2 separate regions of the Homo sapiens genome follow, and region 2 is linked to region 1. The links are contacts of gene promoters, found by promoter capture Hi-C in blood cells and fetal thymus (Javierre and others, 2016). All regions are on one chromosome and are shown on one strand. The core of a region is centred on a gene start or on the middle of the fragment in contact, and the rest is flanking DNA. Distances in the headings are between cores, read along the strand shown.

The links. Contacts are between HindIII fragments. The CHiCAGO score rates a contact against its expected background, and 5 or more counts as called.
Region 2: a fragment that was not itself captured here is called in contact with the fragment with the promoter of PRSS12 in region 1 in 2 of 17 cell types (M0 macrophages and M2 macrophages); the score reaches 5.5 in M0 macrophages.

Annotation. Positions count from the first base shown.
Region 1 is chr4:118,350,233-118,354,973 of GRCh38, reverse strand. PRSS12 (serine protease 12) reads left to right here and starts at 1,971. Exons shown (of 13, transcript NM_003619.4): 1 at 1,971-2,755. The coding sequence starts at 2,254. RefSeq lists silencers at 1,745-2,004, 2,035-2,114 and an enhancer at 1,381-2,226. The HindIII fragment of the contact is 7,140 bases long and covers 1,165-4,741 here.
Region 2 is chr4:116,343,716-116,348,456 of GRCh38, reverse strand. LOC105377384 (a long non-coding RNA gene) reads right to left here and starts at 4,361. Exons shown (of 3, transcript XR_939097.3): 1 at 4,320-4,361. The HindIII fragment of the contact is 1,004 bases long and covers 1,756-2,759 here.

The DNA.
Region 1 (4,741 bases), core at 722-3,221:
GGAAGCATGGAAGCAATGATTGTAGGGGTCAATGTGGGAAGGGGAGGGAGCAGGGTCCAAGCAGCCTCCCCACAGTCCTAAAATGAGCCTTCCCTGGGCCATCAGGTGTGTAGCCTAAGGTGGAAAAGCTAGTCAGAAAGAAAAAGGGCTGACCCCTGATAGAACTGTCACCTATTATTTCAAAAATCTGTGATTGATGAGCTCTGCCAACCCTCACTAAAATGAACAAATAGACTACTCCAGATATATATTTTATCTTTCATTGTCTTCCACAAGTATAGATTTAACTATGCTTTTGGAGCCAGAAAAGTATTAGTAAAAAAATAATGGGTAAAAACAACTGGAATGAAAACAACTTGAATAAAGATTTGACAAATACATCCCTGGACTCTTAACATCATTTCTTTTACCCAATTCTCTCTAAAGTAAAATCAAATATTTCATTAATAGGAGTGAAACAAAAAACAATAAAACGACCCACAAAATTAAAGATGGATTTTTTTTTTTTTTCTTGAGACAACGTCTCCCTCTGTCGCCCAGGCTGGAGTGCAGTGGCACGATCTCGGCTCACTGCAACCTCTGCTCCCAGGTTCAAGCGATTTTCCTGGCTCAGCCTCCCAAGTAGCTGGAATTACAGGCGTGCGCCAACACTCCCCCGGCTTTTTGTATTTTTAGTAAAGGCGGGTTTCATCATGTTGGCGACGCTGTTCTCGAACTCCTGGCCTCATGTGATCCGCCTGCCTGGGCGTCCCAAACTGCTGGGATTACAGGTGTGAGCCACCTCGCCCGGCTAAAGATGGCTTATTTAAAGCTAGTAGTGAATTAATTCAGTTCCTAATTGAAACCTAGGTTTTAACAATAAACATTTGAATTTTGTTCAAGTTTTCTTCAGGGTACATTATATTATGAGACAGCATTGCTTTTTCACAACGAAACGTGACCATGCCAGAAAATAAAATGTTGCCTTCTTTACGGGCTTCCTTCTCCTTGTCAAACTTTGGTAGCATAGTCAGAAACAACTGAAAGGCAAAATACTAAAACATACAGCTCCAGTAACTTTTTTTTTTTAAGATTCTAAGCCAACAGTTTTTTGGAGCCTGCGGGAGGGGGGCGAGGAGTGTTGAAAGGGCCCTACTAAGCTGAGGTCGAGCCAACAGTGAAGCTTCAAAATTGTCAGCAGGCAGAGTCTCTGGAGAGGCAAATGAATAGGCTTAACAGAAGTCCCTTGCCCTGCAAAAAACGAGGCAGGTGCTAGGGGGGTGGACTTTTTGGATAGGATGGAAACCGGGACGGATGAAGTCTTCTCTGGTTAGAGAGGAAATTTGGTATTAAGAGAGCCTCACTGAATCCCAATAATAACCAAACAACTGGTGTTGTCCAGGGCACCGGCTGGAAAGTGGGAGGCAGGAAGCAGAAAGGCTCAAGCTCCTTTCCCTGAGTCGGTTCAGGATTTTAATTTCAGCCAATGTTTATTGGGGCACGGTGTTAAGCACGGTGATATCAAGCTGAATAAAACGTGGTCTTGTCCTTGAAGAGCGTATAGTTCAGTGAAATGGCTTTAACATTCCTCGTGGGTTTTGATAACTTTTATCCTGGGAGTTGTCAGGGAAGAGCTGCATCTAAATCCATCCATACTTTGGTAAAGATTTCAAAACAGAGGAAGCAAGATACGGGGCGACGAGGTTGGAGGAGAGATGACGGCAGGGGCCGGTGCCAGATTTGGGAGCCGCCAACGCCGGGCTGTGCTGGTGCTGCATGCTGGCAAGGGGCAGCCAAGACCGTGCTCCGCGCGGGCACCCTCGGGCTCGGTCCCAGCAGCTGGCAGTGCCGTGCGGGCGGACTGCGGTGGGCCTGGCAGGGGCCGAGCGTAGGTCCGGAGCAGCTTGCGCGGCCGGCGCCCGCCCCCAGGGGGCAGAGTTCCCGGGCTCGTGCCTGCGCCGCTACCTGGGGCTCAGGCCCAACCGCTCCCCGCTGCGTCCGCGCCTTCTCTTTTCCGGTCCTCTCCGCCGGCCGGGGCTCGGCTGAGCTCCAGATTTCCCCACCCGCGGCCGCCGCCAGGGGACAGGAGCCGAGGCGCGGCAGGGCACCAGCGGCGGGAGGCAAGGTTGGGGAGGCGAGGGCGGTCCGCGTGCGGGGGCGGGAGGGGGCTGGGGGATTCGAGGGACGCGGCAGCCCCGCCCCCGCCCCCTCCTCTTCTCCGCTCCAAGCCCGAGAAGCTGGGGAGCATGGACCAGACCCCGCAGCGCTGGCACCATGACGCTCGCCCGCTTCGTGCTAGCCCTGATGTTAGGGGCGCTCCCCGAAGTGGTCGGCTTTGATTCTGTCCTCAATGATTCCCTCCACCACAGCCACCGCCATTCGCCCCCTGCGGGTCCGCACTACCCCTATTACCTTCCCACCCAGCAGCGGCCCCCGAGGACGCGTCCGCCGCCGCCTCTCCCGCGCTTCCCGCGCCCCCCGCGGGCGCTCCCTGCCCAGCGCCCGCACGCCCTCCAGGCCGGGCACACGCCCCGGCCGCACCCCTGGGGCTGCCCCGCCGGCGAGCCATGGGTCAGCGTGACGGACTTCGGCGCCCCGTGTCTGCGGTGGGCGGAGGTGCCACCCTTCCTGGAGCGGTCGCCCCCAGCGAGCTGGGCTCAGCTGCGAGGACAGCGCCACAACTTTTGTCGGAGCCCCGACGGCGCGGGCAGACCCTGGTGTTTCTACGGAGACGCCCGTGGCAAGGTGGACTGGGGCTACTGCGACTGCAGACACGGTTAGTGGCCTCGGGGCGGCCGCGGAAACTCCGGACGGGCTCGGAGCCAGTGAGGCTTGGGGCCGGCGTACAGGTCTCTTGGAAAAAGTGACGGGGTGTGTGGGGTTGTGGGCTTGCGTTTGCGGGCTGTGATGGTGGGCTGCAGCTGGGTTACCAGTAAGGTATACTGGTGCTGCAAATCTAAGCCAGCCAGGTGTGCTTGTGTGAAGGTTGTCAGGGGTGACAGTTCTATGCAAGGTGCTGAGCTCTGGGTTTCTGAATTTGCTCTGTCCTCTGGCCACTGTGTGTGTGTGTGCGCTCGTGTATTGGGTGACAGTGTGCTTTGGGCGTCTGTTCTCTAGATTAGCTTACGTTGAGTGGGTTACCATATTTACATTAAAGAGGCATAATTACTTGTTCTGGAAAGGGAAATGTTACATTAACGTGGCAATCAATAACCTTCCCTCCATTCTTTAGACTCCGATTTTTAAAAATGTGGTAAAATTTTGCCTTAATTTAGCTGTTGACCTCTGTTTTAAAAAGTATGGCAAAATTATGTGGCCAAAATCAGCCATATTCACATACTCCAGCTCAGTATGGTAAGTATCATCAGTGACTGGAAAAAAAGAAAGGGAAAAGAGATGGGAATACTACTATCTTGGTGAAGTAGCAACTTAATATAGTTATACACAGTTTTCCAGAGCCATTACTTAGCTTTATATGTTTTATCAGGATTAGTTGGTAACATCAGGAGATAAAGGTGGCAAAATGTTTTAGGTTTGTGGTAATAAAAGCATCACACTAATAAATTTAATGTAAATGAATAATCCAGCTTTGAACATTGCTTCATTTTGAATTGTTGGGATTTTGTTGAAATTAGGTTTTTTTTTTTGTTTAAAAACTGAGGAAGAAAAAATATCCTCAAAGTTTGAATTTCTTTTCAACAAAATATTTTTGGCAGCTTTCCATTCACACTGTGGGGCAAGGGTTTCCTGAATTGAGATTCTGAATCATATTGTACTTTGTACTTTTTGGAGGTAACTTGGAGGTTATCTGTCACAATGTCATTCATTTCCTGGAGAAATTTTATTTATCAGTACCTTCAATTGCATTAGTGCTTTGAGTTAAGGAAAAGTGATAGGAAGGTTAAGATCAATTATCCTTTATCCTCGGGAATGAAGTCATCGCTTTACTTGTGTTTCATGAACAGAATGCCAATGTAGCTATAAAAAATTTGAGGTGATGTCAAACAAAGAGTGCTAGCATTGTCTCGTTATTCACCATAAGAGATTATAGTAAAATCTTAGGTTTAGCAAACATTGACTTTTTTCATCTTCATATTATTCTTAGTTTTATAAATAGATAAGAGCAGAGAATTATTAGAGAATGAATGTGTAGGAGAGAATATACAACTTCTCTTTAAGTACATAAGCACAGACTCAAGAAAAGTAATTTAAAGTTAAAAAATGATAGTGATCTGTTGCTCTCTTTCTGACATAACTCAGCCTTATGTTTCAGACATGGAGAGTAACTTGTCCTTGGATTTCCTGCCACCTCACCTTCTTCAGTTGACTAGAAATGTAAATCTTTTGAATGCCTTTATGTTCCTAGCTAACTCTCACCAGACAAAATCCCAAATACTGCATAATAGTTATTTGTACTTCCTGGAGTAAAGTGATTGAACAAAAGAGAAACAAAAGAAACCACTCAAGATGGGAGATAAATGCCCTTCCCACCACCACAAAAAAATAGGAAAACGATCAACTGTGTAATAATGAATTACTTTCACAGACTCAATCTCATTCTATCATTTACTTCTCCAGTCTGCTTGGGCATAACCTATAGCTTTGAGATGAGTGGCATATTCTGAACGTTACGGCTCTCTTGGTCCTACATTTCAATTAGGGGTGTGAACAAAAGTATCATGGAGTGGTGAAAAGAATATTGAATTGTGCTTTAGAAAACACTGGTGTCTGTTTTGGCTCTGCCAGTAGCTGTGCACTGTTG
Region 2 (4,741 bases), core at 1,008-3,507, 2.0 Mb after region 1:
TGCACTTATAAGACAGTAATTCTTCTCTTAAACATTTATCCCAGAGAAATGAAAACTCAGATTCACAGAAACACTTGCACTTTAATGTAATCAGAACCTGGACCAAGAAACAGAGTACTATCACATCCATAAGATTCTTATTTTTAACTCTGTTCTCCTACAGTGAGACATTTGATTATTATTGCTTGCTATTATATGCTTACTTAAGGAGTTCAAATGAGTATTGCTTAATCTCACTATGTGTAAACAATGTCCCATCATTTCTGTTGCCACCTCTCTATCCTCTTGGGTTCTGAATACCTATGATTGGTCTTTGAAAACCTATGCTGGGCTGTCCATATATTCCCTGCCTTTATGGAACATCCTGACTTCCACACCTCCTTCCACTCCCCGACTTCCCACCCTCTTCCCCAGCCTTGCAAACTTAGACTTTAGCATCTCACAGTGGGCAGTCACAGATGCCTCTACTTGACTTTTTATGAGCATAAATGCAGGTAACAATGAACTCTTGAGTTCCACCTTGGACCTCACTGCACCTTTAAAACATATAGTTAATCCAAACCAGGATCTTCCTTTCGGAATTGGCTGGTGTCCTTCAATTAAGAAGGTAATAATATATGTTAGGACTGCAGACCATCCAGAGCGCTGCTGCTGTTTATGAAAAGCCTAAGTGAATTCTAATCCACCTCTCTGTGATAATGCTTTAGAAAATCACATTGCCAATTTTAACTACCATCTTTTCCATATTCGTATTTTCCTGCCCATAGCTGTGTGTTCTTCCTTTTCTCTTCACCAAGTCCTCCCTATCTCCTCTCTCTAAATTCATTTCACTGCATGCTCTGGACTCTCTGTCTTTTGGCAAACAAACTCTCATTCTTAACTTCTCACTTTCACACTCCCTTCATCTTCTCATGAAAATAGCAATTAGGTTCTTCCTGTACTACACTCTCATAAAAAAATATTATTTCTCATCTACCCTTTGTAACTAAAAAAATGACAGTAGGAGTCTCAAATATGCCTGCATTCTATAAAAGCTTATGTAAACTTTTGTTAATCAAGATTACCAAAACATACTAACTAGATTTCATATGATTATTATCACATGCAAGCTTTGTTTTCCTAAATTAAATGTTTTCCCTAGTATAATTATTACAATTTTGATATTACAAAATTTAAATATTTTGGCTATATACTTTTTAGTTTTTTTCTCCCTTTAAAAGCTGAAATGTAATGAAGTACATCAAAAAGAAAAGTGAAGTTTGCTTGCTAATGTCCCACTTTTTAAAGTATACTTCCATATACATAATCAGTTTTGAATAATTTAGTGATGTATATAAGCAAAAACAAGTGCCATTCAAAATTTTGAGAAATGAGTCAAACTGACTAACACAATACAGCTATGCTAGCTGAGTAGATTGAAAGCTACATGTGTTATTAAATCAACAGTCTTTTCTCCATTAGAGAGATAAAACTGATCTTGCCTACATTTTATTGGTACATTGTGTTAGTATCTTCCAGTGTTACAGAATGTTATGCTGATATAGCTCAGAAGATAAGATGAAATATAACTGCCTTATCTCTATAAGGGATTCTCTGGCCAACTCTGGTATAAATTGGGCATGAAATGAATGTATTACTGCAAAAGTGTGGAAATAAAACCCATTATAAACTAGAAATTAACCGTTGCAATGGCAAATCATTTTGTAAGCCACAGGATTTTCTTCCTGACTGCTTTGGTTTATTCTTTTTAAAGCTTCACTGAAAAGCAATTACTTTCCTTTTTCTATTTACTTTTCTTACTTATGACTTTCATATTAATGTGTACCTTGTCCATTTGGTATATATTTGAAGAACTAATTGGTTTTTAAAGGTCTATTGATTTGGTGGCCATAGTCTGTATTTGCTTTTCACCTATCTTTTAAAAACCTATATCCTACAACTTAAACTTGTTAAAAAATAAAACACCTAATAACATAAATTAAGTAAAATTAAAATTTCATTCTCTAATGTATGAAATATGATGGGTCAATACTCTGTAACAATTAGAATGAATTTCTGGTGATTTTTACCTTGTTATTCTCAAATTCCCTTGTATCATGACCATGTGATTAATGTATGGAAAAGTAGCAAGCAAGCACGTTTGTTGTTTATTAAGTGAGTTTACATATATTTAGTAAATTTTAGTACCCATCACTTGTTGTTATAAATAAATTATAATGTCCGGAAATCAATGTATGTATGTAATTTTAAAAACATTTTAAACTATATTATATATTTTGTGACATTTGCTTCATGAAACTTGTTCTAGAGCTTTTAAATCAAACCTATTAAAATTATATAAAGAGAGAGGTTCACACTCTAACACTATATATGCATCTGTGGAAAACAATCGTTGTAAAAATATATCTCCAAATAAAAATCGAAATGGACTCATTGCACTTTTTATCCAGAGTACTAACAAAAACAATACCTATGCAAATAAAACTCTAACACAAGAAGAAATGTTACAATAAATGTTGGCCTTTACAAAACAAAATGTGAGTTATTTGATGTAAAGGAAGGTAAGAAAGGCATAAAACAGCTGAGTTTTGTAAACAAGACAGAAGGAAACTATATGTAGAAGTTGCAGGTGAAGATGCAGGTGAGAGCTCTACGTGAATTACAGGTGAATTATAGTGGCACTGCAGACAGAGGACTCTGGCTCCTTGTCTTTTATTTGACTCACCACCATCATTATGAGAGAGAACTGTAAATAAGCTTTTAATGCAGAGGATGAGGTCAGGCTCAACCAAGGGGAAGATCATGGGGGTAAAAGATAATTCTACCTGGTATTCTTTCCTCTTGCCTATGTTAATACACTTAGTATTCAGTGGACCTTGGTGATATGAGTTTTATGTGCATACATCAATGACACTTCCAAATTATATTGAAGAATTAGCCTACTTAGCATATAGATCAATTCTTATTGTGAGGTTATATACTGAAACAGAGTAGACTATGTTTATTTTACATAAGTAATGTTTTTTCCTTTTACGTAAGTATATGATTTCTGAAGAACTCTTGTTGAAGGACCTGTTGGTTTACACAACTACAGTAGAACCCAGTGAAAATACATTTATGATTTCCATGGAAAAATTCCTCAACAATCAATCTCTTGAAAGCAGTTTCTACATAATAAATATATACTGATCTTTCTGAATATTTTAGAGTAATGGATTCTTTTTACAGATACATGAGGAGACATTCTCTTCAGATACAGAGTTTATTTTCCAAAAATTTTCCTGTGAACTTGCTGATGGCTCCCATATTTTTTTAAGTTTGAGGATTCTAGGTTAAGATCCATTTCTGCAGAAGGATTATAATGAGGTTAGTAAATGTGGGAAAAGCTGTCAGAAATGTTCCTAAATAATACATATTTATTAAAAGCCTTCTGAAATAAAAAAAAAATGATACTAAGTGTGGAGTTGAAAAGAAGTACAACTCACGATTTGTCTGAGAGAATTTTAAATTTCCATCAGGGATTTTTATACAATTTAACAAAACCAAAACAATGTGATTAATGATTTTTAAAAATAAGATCAAAATATGGGAACATAGTGGAGGACAGTCAGATCAAAGTAAAGGTTAAAGAAGGCCTTCAAGTGGATGTAGTATTTAAACTGGATTTGAGAAATATAAGAATACATAAAGTAGTTTAAGAAGTCTTGTATATTTTGTCCAATTCAAGGGGAAATAACACATGTAAAAGTCTAAAGAAAAGAAACAATTTGTTGAAAAAGAAATTCAATTAGACTGTAGGAAAAAAGTAATTAAATGGAGAAAAGGCAGTAGGTAAGACTAGAGATTAGAAGCCGGCAAAGTTATGAGAGATATTTTGCACTTTGATTTTTGAAATTAAGACTTTGTCTTCAGTAGACAGAGGAGACCTAAAATCAAAGATATAAAATATGTTAAATTCCTTTTTGGTGGCCAAAATGTCATTTATTTTCATGTTGATATAAGACAGGTTTAAGAATGTTTTTTAAATATTGTTACATTTATTCTTATAAATAATTATCTTAACCTCAAAAACAATAAAAGACAAAAAATAAAAAATATATAATCTAAAAATAGTTAAAAATTTGTGTCAACTATGATATTAAAATAGACTTTCACACTGAATTTTTAGTAAAAGCAAACAATAGATGCATCCTATAATAGGCCATTGAGAAGAGAGACACAGCAAGATTACAAATTGACTGTTAAATATAGCAGGCAACCACATGCAAAAAATAACATGACATTTAAAATACATAGCAAAAAATTGGCTAGGCTCACACCTGTAGTCCCACCACTTTGGGAGGCTGAAGAGGGCAGATCACTTGAGGCCAGAAGTTTGAGACCAGGCTGGCCAACATGAGGAAACTTGGTCTCTGCTAAAAATACAAAAATTAGCCAGTCATTGTGGCATGAGCCTGAAATTCCAACTACTCAGGAAACAGTTTGCAGTGAGCTGAGATCACGCCACTGCACTCCAGCCTGGGCGTAACAGAGTAAGATTCTGTCTGGGGAAAAAAAAAAAAAGGTAGAAAAAGTAAGTTAAAGTATGTAGTGAAATTAAAGTATTTTCAGAGTTTGAAATTATGACATTAAAACTATGCTATCAATATCATGTCTTTTAAATTATTCAATAAATATAAAGAAGAATCCAGTTTTTGTTCTAGTTTATTTATTCATCTTCTGGAGGTAGATGTTTACTGTG